Regions from separate parts of the Homo sapiens genome. Here regions 1, 3, 4, 5 and 6 are each linked to region 2. Evidence: promoter capture Hi-C in 16 types of primary human blood cells and fetal thymus (Javierre and others, 2016). All regions are on one chromosome and are shown on one strand. Each heading gives the region's core, a stretch centred on a gene start or on the middle of the fragment in contact. The rest is flanking DNA. Distances are from core to core; before and after follow the strand shown.

Region 1 (3,032 bases), core at 165-2,664, 360 kb after region 2:
GACCACGCAAGGCACCAGAGGCAGCTACCTTCAGCTGAGATGTCTGCTTCATTCTAGCCCAGCTGCTGCCCTGCTCTTCGCCTGGAACAGAAGCTCTTACCCAGCTTCCCATAATGCTCAATGAGGTCCATCTTGGAAAGGAGGTTGATGTGGGGCAGTTCCACGTGCAGCATGGTGGCCAGGGAGGTACACAGTACTGAAATGAACTTGGCAGGGTCTGTGCAGTAGTGAGAATCCACGAGGTGGACGGCAGTCAGCTGGGAGGGAATAGACAGGGTGAGAGTGGCCTGGAGAAACAGGGATCAGCATTCCCTCATGAGAATGAGGGCTTGAGGACAGAGGGGAAGCTTTCCCCATTAGTCTCCTGCCTCTGTTTCTTTCTAATAACCACCCTGGTTTCCTTCTCCCAGGAAATAGGAGTCATTTTTTTTTTCTTACAAGAGGTCTTGCACTGAGCCTCCCAGTGGGCAAGGGGTTTAAATCCCATGGCATCTGACTCCACTCTTTCATTTACTTTTGCCCACCAATTTACAACAATCTCCATGCCACTTTCGACATTAACCCCTTCCATACTTCCAAAATCGCCAAGTTGGCTACTAACACATTTTACACGTGAGGAAACTGAGGTTCAGAGTGATGAACTGACTTATCAACACCACACAGCCAGTCAGTAGCAGAGCCAGATTCTGAACTCATGCCTGTTTTACTCCAAAGCGACCCAGCCCCTACCTCCCTGTGTGACATGGGGGCGTGGCGTCTGTCCTCCCTGTCTCAGTTACTCCATCCGCAAAATGGGCCTCCCCGCCCTGAGACGCACCCTGAGGTCCCACTGCGCCATTTGGGAGAAGATGCTGCGCAAGGCGCCGTGATGCGTGCAGAGCTCCACCTGGCCTGGGCAGTCGAAGAGGAAGTAGTGGCCGCGGAGGGGGTCGAGCTTGGCACGCAGCCAGTCCAGGTTGGCTTCCAGGTACTCCATGCAGTAGAGCAGGCCGCCGTTGGGCCCCAGGCGCAGCGCGTCCATCACGTCGCCCAGCCCCACCAGCTCGCCCACGTCCACGGCACACTCGTACGGCAGCCCCTCGTTGGCCGGGTCCAGGTTCACCACCGCCACGCGCCGGCCCAGCGCGCGCAGGAACTCACTCATGCCCAGGCAGTACGTGGTCTTCCCTGAGCCCGGCGGGCCGATCACCGCCTGCCCGAAGGCCGTGGTCGGAGCGGCCCCTGCCATTGGCGGCCCGCGGCCCGGAGCAGGTCAACTCACAGGGAAAACGGGGCAGGTAGCCGCGCCGGAGACGAGACTGAGGGCGAGGGTCCCAGTACGTATACCTCGTTGGCGGCCAGCGTCACTCGCCTCAGGCGGAACAGCTGAGACCGTGTCGCGCAAAAGGAGATAACAGGCCGATACTAACTAGACTAACTCGACTTCCGGACAGCGTCGGAAACGGCGAGCCAACGAGAGGAAGTCCCGCCCTCACGGCGGGGACGAAGCTAGACGCCGAGGGGCGGGCGGCGCAGCCGCATTTCTCTCGCGGGTAGTGGGTCGAATGTGGGGTCTTTGCGGGAAAATCGCTCTCGGAATTTCTCTAACCTTCAGACTCGAATTAGAAAAGTAAGGGAGCTCCAGTAGTAAACGTCTTTATTCTTCCGTGACGTCGCACACCCAAGCCACCTCCCGCGGACTCTCCGCTGGCAGTCCCACCCAGTGAGGGTAGAGGCGGTGGAGGGCCCACCCAAGGCCGGCTCTTCCAAGCACCACAAATCCTCTCCTCGCCCAGGTCCCTTTCCCCCTTTCTGGCCTTCGTGGGGACACCTTCAGAGTCCCCAAGGAAGGCTGTGCTGATAGCCTCACTCAACCCAGCTTTTCAAAGTTCTGCAGGAGGCAAAGGGCAAGCCCAGAGATTAGGGTTAGAGACCAAAGACAAGCGGTCGTTACCCCTAATATCCAAGGGGAGGGGACGGGAGGGGGCTTTTTGTAAAAATGCCCCTGAGGTATAGAACCGGCAGGCAGGCAGGCTCGGAACAAAACACCCTGAACCAGCCACGAAGACTGCTGCTCCCAGACTCCTTTCTGCTTCAGTGGTAGATGAGGCCAGGGCAGAGGGTTTTCATCATGTAGCTATGAAAGGAAGCCCCCAACCCGGTCAGTCAGGCAATGAGGGGCTGTCTGAAGCACAACTGGAACCCCTCACAAAGGCCATGTCTGTCCGAAACTTCATGCTGGTGGGTGGCTGGCGGCGGAGCAGTGACTCCGTCTGGTCTTGGGGTAGAGGCTCATCATAGATGGTGGAGATGAGCCCCAAGCCATTTCTACGGGGCCTCTTCAGTTGCCCAAATGGCTGTAGCTTCTCTCCATGGTACCTGGATAAAAACGGGCTCTCAGTGAGAAGGCTGCTCTCAAACTCCAGTTAAAGGGGTTGGGAGAGGACGGGGAAGTAGTTACTACATATCTGGTTTGTCCAAAGACAGAGGCTTTAAATCTGGGTCTTTGTTCTCCAGCCCTCTTATCTATCCATTGACAGTGCCAGCAAGAAGGGGCCTCATATAAAATTTTCATTCTGTCACTACAGACTTCCTAATAGTAACCATCAAGTCCAAACTCCTCCAACAAAGGGTATGAATGATCTTGTTAAGCCTTAGGGCTTACTCTTTAAAAAAAAAAAAAAAGTCAGATTTACTTTATTTATTTATTTATTTCTGAGATGGGGTCTCACTATGTCACCCAGGCTGGATTGTAATGGCGTGATCTCGGCTCACTGCAACCTCCACCTCCTGGGTTCAAGCGATTCTCCTGCCTCAGCCTCCAGAGTAGCTGGGACTACAGGCGCATGCCACCATGCCCAGCTAATTTTTTTTTTTTGTGACAGAGTCTTGCTCTGTCACCCAGGCTAGAGTGCAGTGGCGCCATCTTGGCTCACTGCAACCTCTGCCTCCTGGGTTCAAGCGATTTTCCTGCCTCAGCCTCCTGAGTAGCTGGGATTACAGGCACCCACTACCGTGCCCAGCTAATTTTTTGTATTTTTAGTAGACACAGG
Region 2 (3,221 bases), core at 459-2,958:
CCTTTCACTCAAAATTCAGTTCAACAGCTGAGGTCCTACCCTGGGAAAGCCATGGAAAAGGGGGAGCACGTGGATTCTGGAGAAATCCTTATCCACTTTGATTTTTTTTTTTTTGAGATGGAGTCTCTGTCGCCCAGGCTGGAGTGCAGTGGGGGCTATCTCCGCTTACTGCAAGCTCCGCCTCCCGGGTTCACACCATTCTCCTGCCTAAGCCTCCCGAGTAGCTGGGACTACAGGTGCCTGCCACCACGCCCTACTAATTTTTTGTATTTTTAGTAGAGACAGGGTTTCATCATGTTAGCCAGGATGGTTTCAATCTCCTGACCTCGTGATCCGCCCGCCTCGGCCTCCCAGTGCTGGGATTACAGGTGTGACACTTTGATTTTTTTAAGCCCTAGTCTGTTCTCAACCTCTTGTGTGACCTTGGGTAAGTCACTTCATCTTTCCGAGCTTGTTTCAGGATTTGTAAACTAGGTGGTGGTAATCATTCAAGGAAATCACATGGCTCGCAGGAAGCTTTTGATAAACATTCCTTCCCATTCCCCTGCCTTAGAACAGCTTTGCAAATAACTGACCAGTCTTCCTGCGAAACCAGCAAGCTTGTCCCTCCAGCAAGCTCACTCCTCACATGTGAATACATCTCAGCACACCCGGACCCCTAAGGCTCTTTAGGTGGAGGCTGAATCTCTCTGGGGCAACCAGTCTCCCTGGCCTTTCACTCCAAGTCCCACCAAGCCTCGGTTCATCCTGGGAGCCTGGTCCCTCCTCAGAGAGTCGCAAACCCAAACTAGTCCAGAGCTGGGGCTGCAGGTGACTCCAGGGAGACCTGACCTGAAAGGACCCCCTTCAAGTGATAGGGCAGAGCACAGATTGCAAAAACGCATATTAAGAAATCACTCTTGGCCGGGCGCGGTGGCTCATGCCTGTAATCCCAGCACTTTGGGAGGCCGAGGCAGGAGGATCACTTGAGCCGGGGAGTCAGAGACCAGCCTAGGTAACAAAGCGAAACTTCGTGTCTCTCTCTCTCTCACTATATACACACATACATACATATATGTGCATATATATAATATTTATTTATACATATTTATTTATATATGTAATATTTATATACATTATGTAAAATCAATCGATCAATCAATCACTCTGTGGTGGCACTATGGGTCCTGATGGTGGTAACAACTGCTGATGCCCATCTTGGCCTGGGGCACTGAGATCGCCCGGAGATCACAGTGTTAGCTTCAGGGCGGGGTAGAAATTAGAGGATAGGGGATCTCTAGGGCCTGGTGAGTTGAGGGCCTAAGGGGAGTGGGTCTCAGGCTCCTTCCAAGCCTCAGCCTAGATCAGGCCCAGGAACCCAGTGTGAATGTGTGTGCTGGGGTCGGGGATAAGGTGCTTCTCTCCCGTTGGAAGGAGAAGGAACATCTGGGCTGGGATTCCAAAAGAGCTGAGCGGGGGAGAACGGTGGCCCTGGTGTGGTGTGTCCAGGGGTACACCACTGGAAGGGAAGGAGCCAGCAGGGCCTCTCCGGCGGAGCCGAGCGCGGGCCGGGGGCTCGCGGCAGGGGCGGGGCCGGCCCTCGGGGCGCGGCGGGGGCGGGGGTCCGCGCTGGGAATGCCGCGCCGCGGGGGCTGGGGCGGGGCTTCTCCGGCTCCGCCCCCGCGCAGGTAGCCAATGGGCGCGGCGGCGCCGGGTGACGGAGGGAGCCGAAGTGCTAGTGCCGCGGCGGCGGCGGCGGACGGCCCAGCCGGAGCGCGAGGGGCTCGGGGGGGCGCGGCGGTTCGGGTCGCAGAGCCAGGGACCCCAGGACCCGGGAGGCGGCGCAGCCGGGGCCGCCGGAGGAGCGCGGGTGACCTGGCGGCGGCGAGATGCCGCTCGCCCAGCTCAAGGAGCCCTGGCCGCTCATGGAGCTAGTGCCTCTGGACCCGGAGGTGAGTGAGCGGGGCGGGGGACGGGCGCCCGCGGCCGGCGAGCCCGGATCCTCACAGGGGCGGGGCGGCCCGAAGCGCCGCTGCAGTCCGGCGGGCGCCCGCGAGGGCGCGAGTGCCCTCCGATCTCTTGCCCACTGTCCGGCTCCACCCCCCTATGCCCGGGTGTGCGTGTGCGAGGGACAGTTCCGCCAAGCGCCGACTACCTCCCCGCCATAGCCAGGAGAGGGGATCCTATGGGGCGCTGAGATCTGGTCGCCTTCACCCCACACCTAGGACCCGTCCCGGCATCTGTCCAGAGCTGTCGGAGCTTCCTCCATTAATGCAGACGGGGAGATCTTCAGTGCCAGATGTCTGGGATTCTACCAGAGACAGGGGTTATGGGACCCCCACTTCTCCCAGGGCCCTCCGCCAAGAGCTCCCTGCTTCTGGCTTCACCGCTGCTGAGCCTAGAAGGATTGCTCCTCTTGACCCCTGGCGGATGCGGAGTGTGGGATGGCACCACCCGTCTGGGGCTGGAACTCCTGGTTTTCTTTGCCCTGAGGCTAGGGCCAGAGGACACCTGTGTGCCCTACCCCAGGCTGTGGAGACGAGAGTGGGGAAGAGCCCTTAGACCTTGTGAAGATGATTCCTGGCAGGGCGTGGGGGGACCTTGGTGCCTGCCTCCCTTCTTATGCCCCTTCCGGTAGGAAGGGCTGGGCCCTTGGGGAGTTTGGCTTCTGCCAGCCCAGACTCCCCAGACAACCCAGCTCCTTCTCTCTCAGAAGCAGCTCCTGACCTCCCTTGAGGGCTCTGTGGCTCCAGTCCCTAAGCGTGCAGAAGGCCACCTCTTCCTGTGCCTTTTGACCCCAGGGTCAAGGTCAAGCCCCTGAATGAGCTGGTGGAAAACTTCCTCCTTAACCTCTTGCTGGGAAGGAAGCAGGTGATATTCTCCTTCCCAGGTGGTTGTTGGGGGTATGCAGGGAGGGAATGGAGACCTCATTTGAGCCCAGGAGCTGAGATGACTTTCTCCCAGCTTGGGCCTGGAGCCCCTGTCTCAGTCCCCTCCTCTGCCCTCTCTTACCTAGGGCAGCCACCAAGTGTCCTGCCTCTCAGGACCACAGGCTTAGATCAGGGTGAGCACCCAGGGTCCCCAGCCCCCAGGGTGTGCTGCCCCTTTAAAGGGATGGCCGACACTGGCTATTGGAGGGTGGGCGCGGCAGGATTAGGTAACCAACCTGAAGGAGCAATTTGGAGTAAATTGCTCTGGGATTCCTGCCATGGGGATTTTACAGGCACTGCTAGGCTGCTCAG
Region 3 (3,365 bases), core at 631-3,130, 430 kb after region 2:
TATTATTACCTGTATTATTATACTAAAGCACAGACAGGTTAAATAAGTTGTCCAAAGCCATACATCTATCTGTACACAATTGGCCTGGCCCCAGACTCTTATCCACTACCCCATCCCATCTATTACTTGGGAGAAAAGAGGCAGTCAAAGCTGCCAGCTCCATGGACCAGCGTGTGCCCAGAGAGAGCCCATGTTGGGAGCCCTGTCTTCCAGGCTCAAGCCTTCAGGAGAGTGGACAGATCTACAGTTAACCATGCTGAGCTCGGAAGTACGTGGGGCTCCTGAGGATGGACTGGCTATTGTCTTCTCCCCAACCTCCAAAGCTTTAGGACTCTCTATTATTGATTAAATTAATACAACGAGGTGCCCAGCGTTGTGCTAAATGCTGAGAAAACAGCAGTGAATGGGCCAGAGGACTTTCACCTTATTTGACTCTCACAATTGCTCTGAAAATAAGTAGTATATCTCCATTTCACAGATCAGGAATCTGAAGCTCAGAAAGGTGAAGTGACTGGCCCAGAGACACCTAGCAAGAGAGGGCTGGAGTAAGATTTGCACTGTGGCCCGCCAGGCTCTGAAGCCTGCGTACTTTGTGTGTGCCACACATCTCCAGCGGTGGTGGGATGAGAAGAGAAGACCTGGGATAAGGACAATGCCTGCCTCAGTTCCCCACTTCCCTCCAGCCATTGAACCCTCCTGAAGTCAAACTCAGGCAGTTTCTTCCAGGCTGTATCTCCCCGACCCTGCTGCCACCGCCCCGCCACCACCCCGCCCAATCCTAGGAACCTGGTCACTTGGTTTAGTGAGGGGAGACTCCCTGTCCCTATTGTGGCTTGAGGCAAGATTCTTAACCTCACTTTCCTCATCTTTAAATAAGGAGAGACTAGTATCTTCATGCCCCGCCAATCCCGTGAGATTTAAATGAAATATTGAGTGCAGGGGGCTTCCCGCAGTGGCCTTGCCCATGGGAGGGGCTAGGTCACTAGGCGATCTAAGGCACCGCAAGGATGTTCCCGGGGGTCAGAGGGTCCCGGCCCGCCCTCCCTGGATTTCTCGTTGATGCTTTCCTCTTCCCCCTTAGTCCCGCGAACACACACACACACTCAAGGGTCTATGTACCGTCCCCTCCTCCGAGGGTCCCCAGGACAGGCCCGGCCGCACCAGCCTCTGCCCCCAGCCCAGTGCCAAGCCTCGGACACCCGGCCGGGGAGGACCACCCCAGTCCTGCTCGAGAAACAGCCGTCGGCTCAGTGCACCCTCGGCCTCCTGCCCCAAAGGTGCAGCCCGAGAGTCCCATATCCGCGGGCAGCTAGTCCTGGGGACAAGGAAGAACCAGATCCTGGCACTGTCCCCCGGGCTACCACAGCCCCTACACCAACTCTGCCCTCGGGGCGAGCACTACCCTCTCCAGCTGCAAGGGCCCTACCCCGCGGGCGGACCCAGCCTCCCTCCCGTCCCGACGCTGTTCCTCGGGGTGAGCACCAGCGTTTGTCCCATCCCGACGCTGCCCCCCGGTGAGTGCGGCCCCCGCACCCAGCCAGTGCAGCCCTAAGGGCGAACGCGGCCCCTCACCCCATTCTGCGCGCCCAGCCCGGGCGCCCGCTCAGGCCGCTCCCCAGCCCGGCCCGCGCACCCCGGAAGTAGGAGGGTGGCCCCCGAGGAACCGGGCCCGGGACCCTCTCCTGTCCGGGCTCAGCTTCGGGGGGCTCCCGACACCGGCGCCGCCCTGGCTTGCGCCCCCCTGGGCCCGCGCCGGGCTTACCTGTCCCGCCAGGTGAGCCGCCTCCGGCTCAGCCCCTCCCCCGCCCCCTCGCCGCTCACCTGGGGCGCAGGTGAGCGTCTCGCGGGAGCGCTGCACGGGCCGCCGCTAGGGACACACTTCCTGCCTCCGCGAAGCGCTACCGCGCACCTGGACCGAGGCCCCGCCCCGGGGCTCTGCAGAGCTGCGCGTCCCCGCTCGAGTGCTCGGCCCGTTCAGCCTAGTCCGGGTAGGTGAGGTGTGGCGGGGAGGGGTCGAGAGGCGCTGGGGCTCAGTCTCCTCTTCTGTTCAACAGGCTGGTGGTCCTGTCAGTCTCTGAGCACCTGTGGAACTTCTGCCCGGCCGTAAAGCTCCAACTCAAAGGGAAGCTCTCTTCTGGGAAGCTTTCCCTGATCCTGTCTGTTTTTCTGTTGGTTAGAACAGTCCCTGTACTCAGCACACTGTCGTTTTGTTGTCTTCTGTCTCCTCCTTTAGCCTCCTACCTTGCAGGGTTTGGTCTTGTTCCCCTGTGTTCCTGGTGCTCAGCACAGGTCCTGGCACATACTAGGTGTTCAACAAATATTTTCCACTGAATGAGGCCCTGGGCCCCAATTTCTCCCTTTGCCCTGAGGCAGAACTGGGAGCCTGGGCCGCTGATCAGTTTACCTTTTCTTTTGTTCAGAGAAATCTGCAGGTAAAGACAGGAACCTCAGCTCTGAGGCCCCGAGTAGGGTAGAGGAGGGGGACCGGATATGCAGCTCTGAAAGATACATCCAGGATCAGAAGTGGTGGCCAAAATGGGCCATGGTCACTACATCCAAAAAAGGTCTCTGCAAGAGGCAACACCATTGAATGTCAATAAGGCAAGGCTCAGACTATTCTGGGTTACTGTTCCCCTTAATATTAATAACAACTCAATAACTTAACAATAGCATTAATAAACAAGTGACTTGGCCGGGCGCAGTGGCTCATGCCTGTAATCCCAGCACTTTGGGAGGCCGAGGCGGGAGGATCGCGAGGTGGGAGTTTGAGACCAGCCTGGCCAACATAGTGAAACCCAGTCTCTACTAAAAATACAAAAAATTAGCCTAGCATGGTAGCAAGTGCCTGTAATCCCAGCTACTCGGGAGGCTGAGGCAGGAGAATGGCTTGAACCCAGCAGGCAGAGGTTGCAGTGAGCCGAGATCGCGCCATTGCACTCCAGCCTGGGCGACAGAGCGAGACTCTGTCTCAAATAAACAAAACAAACAAACAAACAAGTGACTTTTAGGGAGCATCTCCAGGAGCCATGCATGCCGAAGCCGTTAATCTGTGAAGTGGGTCAGGTATTATCATATCCATTTTACAGTAAGAGGAAACTGAAGCTTAGAGAGGGGACATTGTTTGCTCAGGCAGTTGGCACAAACTGACTTTTGGCAAGGCACTTTCCTTCTCTAAACCTAATCTCTGGAGATAGTAGTACCTCTCTTTAACTGGGAGGATTAAAAGAGATCATGGATGCAACAGGAAGATATCACTGGGATGCATTAGGCATAGGTGTTCAATTTCCACCAGAGACCCTCCATCCCAGCGCCTCCCACCACATCTTGTCCACATTCCCTCCTGAGGAAAGTGCACATTGTATTCT
Region 4 (3,356 bases), core at 559-3,058, 380 kb after region 2:
AGGTCCGTTGCAGCCCCGAGTTCCCAGTCTCTGGTAATCAGGGGTAATTTTTTGCCCTGGTATAGGGAGGGTATCCCTCACAGAGGAATCTTGATGGCTTGCTGCATGCAGGAAGAGGCAGGTCAGCTCACCCTTTCTGAAACTACAATTTCTCCAAGATTTTCAACCCAAAATGATCAAGATACCAGTTTGGCACATTGGCACATCCTTCACTCCTTGAGTTTCTTTGTCTATAAAATGGATGGAGGCCGGGCATAGTGGCTCATGCCTATAATCTCAGCACCTTGGGAGGTGGAGGTGGGTGGATCACCTGAGGTCAGGACTTTGAGACCAACCTGGCTAACATGGTGAAACCCCGCCTTTACTAAAAAATACATAAAAGGCCGAGCGCAGTGGCTCACGCCTGTAATCCCAGCACTTTGGGAGGGCGAGGCGGGCGGATCACCTGAGGTTGGGAGCTTGAGACCAGCCTGACCAAATGTAGAAACCCCGTCTCTACTAAAAATACACAATTAGCAGGGCGTGGTGGCGCATGCCTGTAATCCCAGCTACTTGGGAGGTTGGGCAGGAGAATCATTTGAATCTGGGAGGTGGAGGTTGCGGTGAGCTGAGATCGCGCCACTGAACTCCACCCTGGGCAAGAGAGTGAGACTCTGTCTCAAAAAAAAACGAAAAAATACAAAAAGCATTAGCTGGGTGTGGTGGCGCATGCCTGTAATCCCAGCTACTCGGGAAACTGAGGCACAAGAACCGCTTGAACCCAGGAGGTTGCAGTGAGCCGAGATCGCACCACAGCACTCCACCCTGGGCAACAGAATGAGACTGTGTCTCAAAAAGAAAGATAAAGCGGTTGGAGATAATGATAGTACTTCCAGCACAGAGTTGTGAGAGTGAAATACCATAATCCAGGAAATGTGTTTAGAGCACAGCTCTCAATAAATGTTACGTGGGCCGGGCGTGGTGGCTCACACCCGTAATCCCAGCACTTTGGGAGGCCAAGGCAGGCGGATCATGAGGTCAGGAGATCAAGACCATCCTGGCTAACATGGTGAAACCCTGTCTCTACTAAAAATACAAAAAATTGGCCGGGCGTGGTGGCGGGCGCCTGTAGTCCCAGCTACTCGGGAGGCTGAGGCAGGAGAATGGTGTGAACCCGGGAAGTGGAGCTTGCAGTGAGCTGAGATTGCACCACTGCACTCCAGCCTGGGCGAATGAGCAAGACTCCGTCTCAAAAAAAATAATAATAATAAAAATAAATAAATAAATAAATGTTAATGTGGTTATAGTTTAGTAGCTACCCAGAGTGAGCACCCACAGCCTGGGGTTTCTTCTGGCCATACCCTGCCAGGAAGAGGAGGTCTCCTTTGTTAACTCTGACTCCCCTGAGATCTTAGCATTGTCGCCTCCACCAGTTTCATTGGGATTTCCTTTCTTTGCTGTCTTGTTCTGTGAGGTGGTCCCTGTCATCTCTCCAGGCCCATTTCCTCCTACCCTGGGCCCCACACATCACTTGCAGTTAACTAAGCACCTCTTGCTCTCTGACATCTCTGTGCCTTTGCATATATCTGTTTGGAATGCCCATCCCTTGGGTTGCCTAGCAAAACCCTGTTCATTCTCTTTAGCTCAAACCAGTCACCACTTGGGTAAAGCATTTTTCCCACCTTCAGGCAGATTTAATCTCTCCTGTTGCCTGTTGTATGTACCCCTATCACAGCTCAGATCACTCTGCATTACAATTACTTACATGTCTTCCTCTGCCACAGACAAGATGTTTCATGAGAGTAAGAAATGTATCTTATTTATTCTGTGCCCCCTACCCCAGCATCTAGTACAGGGGTTGGTACAAATGGAGGTTGAGAGACATTGAGTGATAGAATGAATTAATGGATGGATAGTGGGTGTTGGCTTTTTGCCAGCATCACGGGTTCTAGGATATTTGAATGCCCCAAGGACAGGGTGGAGTTAATGCGGGACACAGCATGCGTCAGCTGTCTGACTACTTAATAGGCAGTCAACGATTTGGCTAATGAAGATAGAGATAATGATGGCAATAAAATGGTACTCTAGGCTGACCCAGAGCCACAGCCACTCTCCTGCTTTCCAGTGAGTCATCCCTGGCTGGGCCTGAGGACAGGAATCATGGCTCAGAGGTAGATGGTCAGTCAACAGTGGCTGAGCTGGTTCCAGACCGCTTGATCCTGGCCATGACTCACTCCAGCTTGTGCTGCTGACAAGAACCCTCCAGAACTTCACAGGTTTGAGTACAAGTCTCAGCACAGGCCAGGTGCGGTGGCTCATGCCTGTAATCCCAGCACTTTGGAAGGCCAAGGCAGGTGGATCACCTGAGGTCAGGAGTTTGAGACTAGCCTGGCCAACATCGTGAAACTCTGTCTCTACTAAAAATACAAAAATTAGCCAGGCGTGGTGGTGGGTGCCTGTAATCCCAGCTACTTGGGAGGCTGAAGCAACGGAATTGCTTGAACCCGGGAGGCGGAGGTTGCAGTGAGCCGAGATCGCGCCACTGCACTCCAGCCTGGGCAGCAAGAGTGAAACTCCATCTAAAAAAAAAAAAGAGTCTTAGCACAGACAGTGATCAGCCCAGACCTTAAGTTACATACGCCATCTGAGCCTGTTTCCTCCTCTTCCCTCACTGGCAATGAGACACAGATCCCAACCCAGGATGCTGATCATGGAGACATACTTCCCCACTTTTGGAAAGCCTACAGTCTCATGGAGAAAGCACGATTCCCCTTACCACATTGTACCGTAATTATCTCTTTAGTTTTGCCATATTTGTCTTTATGTTCTTTGCTCAAGGCAAGGAAATAGGGCACGGGGAATGACTCAAGAAACGCAGACAAGAAACAGAAGTGTAGCTCCCCAACCATGTGGATTGGTAGGGAAGAAATTTGAAAAGGATCAAGGTAGAGATTTTTCTTGTTGTTTTTTTATTTGTTTTGAGACAGGGTCTTGCTCTGTCACCCAGGCTGGAGTGCAGTGATGCTCCCATGCTCACTGCAGCCTCCAACTCCCAGCTCAAGTGATCCTCCCACTTCAGCCTCTCGAGTGGCTGGGACTACAGACATAAGCCACCATACCTAGCTTACTTTATTTTATTTTACTTTTATTTATTTATTTTTTGAGATGGAGTCTCACTTTGTCGCCCAGGCTGGAGTGCAGTGGTGCAATCTCGATTCACTGCAACCTCTGCCACCTGGGTTCAAGTGATTTTCGTGCCTCGGCCTCCCGAGTAGCTGGGAGCCACCGCACCTGGCTAATTTTTGTTTTAGTAGAGACGGTGTTTCACCATCTTGGCCAGGCTGGTCTTGAACTCCGACCTCGTGATCCGCCTGGCC
Region 5 (2,979 bases), core at 191-2,690, 330 kb after region 2:
TGCCTCCTGCCCGTCTGAGCTCCTGAACTTGGGAAATGGAGGCCCAGAGGCAAAGGGAGGTACCTGAGACAGGAACTGAGTCAGGATCAACAGGCCAGAGCGGGCAGGAGGTATCAGGCAGCCTGGCTCCCAGATGCACCCCTGAGCTCCAGCAGGGGAGGAGTAGGAATGAAGGGGCTTCCTTGCCCTTGCTCATGGCTATGCGGAGGGCGTGAACCACCACCAGGTCCTCTGGCTTAAGTGGCGGGAAGCAAATGGTCCCTCCCTGGACTCAGGCTCCAAAGTTCCTGGGCCTGCCTTCCAGGTTCCCAGTGTCCTGGGATCTCCAGCTTTCCCCAGGACTTGGGGAAGCCCCGGCTGGATGACTAGTACAAATGAAGGCCCCTGAGGTTCCAGGACCTGCTGAGGTCACAGGAATATCCTAGATCAAGCTTGTCCAACCCACGGCCCACAGGCTGCATGTGGCCCAGAATGGCTTTGAATGCAGCCCAACACAAATTAGTAAACTTTCTTAAAACATTATGAGATTTTTTTGCAAATTTTTTTTTTTTTTTAGCTCATCAGTTATTGGTAGTGTTGGTATATTTTATGTGTGGCCCAAGACAATTCTTCCAATGTGGCCCAGGGAAGCCAAAAGATTGGACACGCCTGTCCTAGATGGAGAGGAAGGAGGCAGTGCTGAGCACATCTGGCCATTCATCCATCTGGAGAGAGAAGGCTATGGGCAAACTGCTTCCTCTCCCCTGTAGACACCCAGCTGGGAAGGTCTGGCCTTTGGCTAAGTCCTGGCTTGGGGTCCTTCCTCATTTCACAGAACCTAACTCTATGTTAGTGCTTTGTGAGTATATGTTGATCATAATAAAGTTGACGGGATTTTTTCACATGATAATAATAGTTGTCATCTGGCCGGGCATGGTGGCTTATGCCTATAATTTCAGCACTTTGGAAGGCTGAGGCAGGTGGATCACTTGAGGTCAGCTGTTCGAGACCAGCCTGGCCAACATGGTGAAACCACATCTCTACTTAAAAAAAAAAAAAATACAAAAATTAGCTGGGTGTGGTGGTGCACCCTTGTAATCCCAGCTACTCGGGAGGCTGAGGCAGGAGAATCACTTGAACCCAGGAGGTGGAGGTTGCAGTGAGCTGAGATTGTGCCACTACACTCCAGCCTGGGTGACAAGAGCGAAACTCCGTCTCAAAAAAAAGAAAATAATAATAATAATAGTTGCCATCCATTCTACTGTGCTTTCCATTAACTCGTGTAATCCTCACAAGTCCCATTTTATAGTTACAGGAACTGAGGCTCACAGAGCTTAAATCACTTGGCCAAGGCCACAAACAGCTATAAGAATTACATTTAGGCAGTCTGATTCCAAAGATACTAGTCTATTCTGTATCTCATAGACAAACAATACATATTCACTTTTTTGTTGTTGTTTTGTTTTGAGACGGAGTCTTGCTCTGTCACCCAGGCTGGAGTGCAGTGGCGCCATCTCGGCTCACTGCAAGCTCCGCCTCCCGGGTTCAAGCGATTCTCCTGCCTCAGCCTCCCGAGTAGCTGGGACTACAGGCATGTGCCACCATGCCCGGCTAATTTTTTGTATTTTTAGTAGAGACAGGGTTTTCCTGGGTTAGCCAGAATGGTCTCGATCTCCTGACCTTGTGATCCACCCACCTCAGCCTCCCAAAGTGCTGAGATGACAGGCGTGAGCCACCGCGTCCGACCTATATTCACTATTTATAAATTGGAGAGAATAAGAAAATCAAAAGGGCCAGGTGTAGTGACTCACACCTGTAATCCCAGCACTTTGGGAAGCCAAGGCAGGAGGATTGCTTGAACCCAGAAGTTCGAGACCAGCCTGGGCAACATGGTGAGACCCTGTCTCTACAAAAAAATACAAAAATTAGCTGGGCGTTGTGGTGAGCACCTTATTCTTAGGAAGCTGAGGCAGGAGGATCACCTGAGGCCAAGGAGGTTGAGACTGCAGTGAGCTGTGATCATACCACTGTACTTCAGCCTGGACATCAGAGTAAGACCCTATCTCTAAAAAGGAAATTGAGAAGAAAGAAAATCAAAGGGAAGCAAAATCACTCACTCTCACTACCTCAAGATACCCTCTAGAAGTTGGTATTTTAGTGTGGTTCCTATTGTTTTCTGTGTCAGTTCTCTGATTTGAGCAAAATCTTTGGGACGTCAAACTTAAAATCCCCTTTACTTCCTTGGAAACCCTGTAGCATTAGCCCAGACATGTCCCTACTCCTCCTTGTGGCAAAGAGAAGGATCTCGTCTTTGGTCCCCAGAGTTCTGGCCTAAGCCTCCCTCCAGGAGGGAAGATGAGTGTTCAGACACTCAGAGTAGCTGGGGGAGACACAGGCCTGTGAAATTATCCTGGCTCAACTATTAGGTCGGCAGAATCCCAGTGAAGGGAGCCCTACCTCTGAGCCCCATCTAAGCTTTGGCTATGGGTGGGGCAGATAAGCAGGAATCCATCCCTATAGGCTCAATGCCAACACCCTTAGGTGAAACTCTTGATGAAACTTGAGGCCAGGGCTCCGGCAAGCAGGGAAAGAACGTTGGCAACAGAGGTCTCCATCTCTGAGGACTCTGCCAGGGGTCAGAGATGGGGCAATGGTCAAAAGGAAGGAACAGGCCAGGCACAGTGGCTCATGCCCATAATCCCAGCACTTTGGGAGGCTGAGGCAGGAGGATCGCTTGAGCCCAGGAGTTTGAGACCTGCCTGGGCAATGTAGTGAGATCTGCTCTCTATTTAAAAAAAAAAAAAAGGAAAGAACAAGTAAACTTCTGAGAAACAGGCTGGGGGAGGCATCACGTAGCTGGAATTGCTGCCCCATAAAACAGAATGGTATGTGTCACTGCCACCTCCCTTTCTCAGTCCTCTCTCTCCCCAGGTTGCTAGCGTCCCCCCTGGGGGATCAAACTGGACTGCTTCCCAGCCTCAGACAGAGAGCAGTCTGAGT
Region 6 (3,333 bases), core at 315-2,814, 260 kb after region 2:
GTAGCAGAGAAGGAAAAGAGAAATTGCAGGAAAGTACAGCTGAAAATCTGGATAAAGTTCTACCTCTACAGGGTGACAGCTGAGCTTTTAAAAAACATTCTGACTTGTCTTGAGAGACCCCTGGCCTTTTTACAAATAGATTTTTGAGAGAATTTGATGTGGACAGAGGGAACCCTGAGAATGCATGTCTTTTTTCCCCTTGTGAATTTACAGAGCAAGGACAGTTCATTTCTCAGTTTTGTCTTTGCAGAGAGAGTGCTGCTTGGAGCCTCATGGTGGACTTCTAGAGATTCAAGTCACAGCCTTAGGCCCCAGTCACAAGTGTGTCCCCAGGCTTTGCCACGTTACTCACAGGCCTCTGGAGCTGAGAACAAGTGCGTGGCACTGAAAAACCTGGGGGAAGGGCCATGAAACTCCATTTTTTCCCCCTTCTCCAACACACAACGACTAAATATGATTTGCCTTTTCTCCACCTTGCACACAACAGATATCTGAAGGCAATTTAGGTCTCAGGGCCTGAAATGAGTTACAGAGTCAAGAGATACAGTCCCAGGCCCCCACAGACTGATGTGGGCTGGTCTTCGCCTGGAGAGGTAGCAACCATCTCTTTGTTCCCACCCACATGAGTAGCCGTTGCAGAAGATAAACCCCTCCCTGAGCCAGGCTGTGGCCAGAGGCTAACCCGGCCCCTGGCTTCGTTTGGAGGGCAGATAACTGAAACCACATAAGGCTTTGGAATCCTGAGAAACAAGAAATCCACCAACGGAGAAGGATTTATCATCTGTTTCCTTTAAGGAGGGTGCAAAGTTGTTCTAACAGTTTCCGTTACAAGGGTACAAACTGGCCGCTCCCCCCAATAGACGGTTTTGTTGAGTTCGCCTCTTTTTTTTTCTTCTTTTTTTGGCCCCACTTCCTATGAGAGAAACTGCTTGGGTGAGGGAGGTGAAAGGAGCCCTGGAGGGTGTTCTCTGAGGTTTTCTTCACCATCCTCATTAGCCACCTGAGGTGGGGCTGAGGACTAAAGTAGGACAGAAGGTCTCTGGTAGATAGAGGAGGGGAAAATCAGGGGGATCCCCCACTTTCTTCACACCCAGGACGCAGGGTGCCGCTGCCGGCCACAGAAACCCCAAGAATGTTTTTCTTTGGCTATTCAGAGGACATCTATTGTGTGTCAGGCCCTGTGCTGAGCTGTTGTTGCCTGACAGCAGGAAGAGCGCGGCTCTGGTTTCTGTGAAGAGGCTGCGGGTCAGCCTCCGACTACAAGAGCCTCGGCCCACACCGGGAACTCAGTGAACGTCAGCGGGAGCTGGGGCAAGAGCACTGACTCTGAGACAGCAGCCTCCGCTCACTATTTGAAGGCGGGGTGGCGGGGGGCCTTGAAGGAGAGCGAAGTGCGAGAGAACTCTTCAGGTGTCACCAAGGTGGGAAGGTGCTACGAGGCGAGGCGCCGAGCGGCGACCCCCATCCCGCTCGCCCGGAGTCAACATGGCCGCCGCGCAGGGAGGCGGGGCTGCTCCAAGTCCGGGCAGGAGCGGGGCGGGGACGCCGTCGGCGGAGCCAGCGCGCAGGCGCGGGCCGCGTGGGCCCCGGATGGAGGAGCTGAGGTTCGGTCCCCGCCGGGGAGGTCGGGACGGGCAGGGGCTGAGGACCCCGCGCCAGCTTGGGAGCCCTGGAGTTCTGGCGGGAGGGAAGCTGTCAAATGGAAGCCGGTAGAAATGAGACAGACGCCCGGAGAAGCGGGGAGCCCCGCCCCTCCGCCATAGCAGCCTCGGGCGCCGCCTCTTCCTTTCCAGCCTCCCGCCCTCGTCTGCTTCCGGCCCTGTGGCCTGGTGGGGCTCTGCAGGCTCCCTCGGGAGTGGTCCTTGGGCCGTGGCCCCTCTGGGGTGAGCGTGGATGATTAGTACCCAGAAGGGACTGTGTCCAAAAGGAGCCGGCCAGAAACGGGTTGCGGACACGGCTGGGCTGACAGAAGGCAGCCCCCACGAGGCCTTTGGCTCTGAGGACCCTGGGTCAGAGCGACTTCTCCAGCCTGCGCAGGGGGTGTTAGTCTTACCCAGAGGGTCCAGAGCTGCCGTTCAACAGGATGTCCCAGATTCTCAGATAGGGCCCAACTACCCTAAGCATACCTAGCAAGGGCAGGCTGCGGCATGGAAGTACTGGGCTAGGCGTTTGGGTGACCTGGGTCATAATCCTGGCTCGGAAAGGGCGCGTACCCTTTGGCGAGGGATGCGGGCTGGTACCGTGAGGTTTAAGAAGCAGAAAACATGACAGCCTCTTTAAGTAGCCCTGGGTACGTCACTTGACCCCAGTGAGCCTCAGTTTCCATATCCATAAAATGGCGATGGTAATTATACTAGCCTCACAGTGTCTGATGAGATCTCTGGAGCCTATTTATCTCACGGGAAAATTTTTGAAGAGTGAAACTAGTTGATCTGTAAGTGTCCTGCCAGTTAAGAGTCTGTGATTTGGCAAAGGGGTTGTTGGGAAGTGAGGTGGGCAATTAGCTGAGAGGGAGAATTGACTAGCTTTGTTTTTACTTGGTTTACCTGTAAGCAAAGTGTGGGCTACACACATCTGTAGTCGCTGAGGCTAGAGCTTGACTCGAGAGAGGAAAGGAAGAATGCAAGCATGGTCAAGTGGCAGAGGTGGGTTAGGTGCTTTTCTGATCCCAGCTTCTCTTCTGCATGCGCGTGGGAAGCCAAGGAAGAGGAAAAAAGAGTGAATTCGCCCTAGGATAGGGAAGGAGTAGCCGCGTGAGGTTGAGTATGCCCATTTCCGTGATTTCTCTCGATTCAGCGAGTCATACGTTGGAAACGTTTAGATTCACAAACTATCGTTACTGTCTGGGGCTTTCAGAAGCTTGCCTTTGAACCGAATTTTCGTGAGCCAACCGGTGTGGAATTGGGGGCCCCTCCCTTCCTCCAGGCCTCCTGGCGATGGAGTAAGCAGCAGGCGCCCCCTTGTGCCAAGGAAAGAGTACTGTTGCCATTGGCCAACTTGGCTCCCTTTCTGGGGAAATTTTATTTTCCTGTGGCTTCTGTGACTTTGTCGTCTTGCTCTTGACATGAGATATGATGGGAAGAATACTTGGGGCACTGATTTCATATCTAGAGTCAGTGAACTGCTGATGCTGTATCCTGTCCCTACCACTTCCATTCATTCAGAACACAGGTTTAAGATGCCTATTTGTGTTCTAGGCCCTGGGATATAGTTGTGATGTAAAGCCCCTGCCCTTAGCAACTTAAATAAGCAATAGCAATAACGGCAATAGGGCAGAATGTAATGAGGGCATAGCACACTGTCTAGTGAGGATCAGAGAATTCCAGAAACAAG

Evidence for each region. The method cuts DNA at HindIII sites, captures the fragments that hold promoters and counts their contacts. A CHiCAGO score of 5 or more calls a contact.
Region 1: a contact is called between the fragment with the promoter of GPN2 here and the fragment with the promoter of RPS6KA1 in region 2, in 3 of 17 cell types (neutrophils, endothelial precursors and M1 macrophages). The highest score is 8.6, in neutrophils.
Region 3: the fragment with the promoter of KDF1 here is called in contact with the fragment with the promoter of RPS6KA1 in region 2 in 3 of 17 cell types (fetal thymus, endothelial precursors and non-activated CD4 T cells); the score reaches 6.9 in fetal thymus.
Region 4: a contact is called between a fragment that was not itself captured here and the fragment with the promoter of RPS6KA1 in region 2, in 1 of 17 cell types (neutrophils). The highest score is 8.1, in neutrophils.
Region 5: a fragment that was not itself captured here is called in contact with the fragment with the promoter of RPS6KA1 in region 2 in 3 of 17 cell types (erythroblasts, neutrophils and endothelial precursors); the score reaches 7.9 in erythroblasts.
Region 6: the fragment with the promoter of PIGV here is called in contact with the fragment with the promoter of RPS6KA1 in region 2 in 3 of 17 cell types (naive B cells, M1 macrophages and megakaryocytes); the score reaches 6.3 in naive B cells.

Annotation. Positions count from the first base shown.
Region 1 is chr1:26,888,869-26,891,900 of GRCh38, forward strand. GPN2 (GPN-loop GTPase 2) reads right to left here and starts at 1,415. Exons shown (of 5, transcript NM_018066.4): 1 at 818-1,415; 2 at 101-257. The coding sequence starts at 1,228. GPATCH3 (G-patch domain containing 3) reads right to left here. Exons shown (of 7, transcript NM_022078.3): 7 at 1,620-2,358. The coding sequence ends at 2,142. RefSeq lists enhancers at 576-1,453, 809-978, 1,489-1,758. The HindIII fragment of the contact is 6,723 bases long and covers 346-3,032 here.
Region 2 is chr1:26,528,053-26,531,273 of GRCh38, forward strand. RPS6KA1 (ribosomal protein S6 kinase A1) reads left to right here and starts at 1,709. Exons shown (of 22, transcript NM_002953.4): 1 at 1,709-1,931. The coding sequence starts at 1,869. It overlaps LOC124903884 (a long non-coding RNA gene), which reads right to left. Exons shown (of 2, transcript XR_007065558.1): 1 at 3,146-3,221; 2 at 1,068-2,509. RefSeq lists a silencer at 1,594-2,073 and an enhancer at 2,315-3,221. The HindIII fragment of the contact is 9,367 bases long and covers 598-3,221 here.
Region 3 is chr1:26,958,588-26,961,952 of GRCh38, forward strand. KDF1 (keratinocyte differentiation factor 1) reads right to left here and starts at 1,881. Exons shown (of 4, transcript NM_152365.3): 1 at 1,763-1,881. RefSeq lists an enhancer at 1,319-2,001 and a silencer at 2,871-3,165. The HindIII fragment of the contact is 1,819 bases long and covers 322-2,140 here.
Region 4 is chr1:26,905,619-26,908,974 of GRCh38, forward strand. It overlaps a transcript of NUDC not described here. Among named protein-coding and RNA genes, the nearest start is that of NR0B2, 6.7 kb to the right of the region's middle. RefSeq lists enhancers at 4-504, 542-1,043. The HindIII fragment of the contact is 8,297 bases long and covers 1-3,356 here.
Region 5 is chr1:26,859,096-26,862,074 of GRCh38, forward strand. No RefSeq gene overlaps it. Among named protein-coding and RNA genes, the nearest start is that of SFN, 2.6 kb to the right of the region's middle. The HindIII fragment of the contact is 2,023 bases long and covers 430-2,452 here.
Region 6 is chr1:26,786,386-26,789,718 of GRCh38, forward strand. PIGV (phosphatidylinositol glycan anchor biosynthesis class V) reads left to right here and starts at 1,565. Exons shown (of 4, transcript NM_017837.4): 1 at 1,565-1,883. RefSeq lists enhancers at 335-484, 1,005-1,444, 1,491-2,317, 2,005-2,204, 3,012-3,141 and a silencer at 1,495-1,704. The HindIII fragment of the contact is 3,281 bases long and covers 1-2,857 here.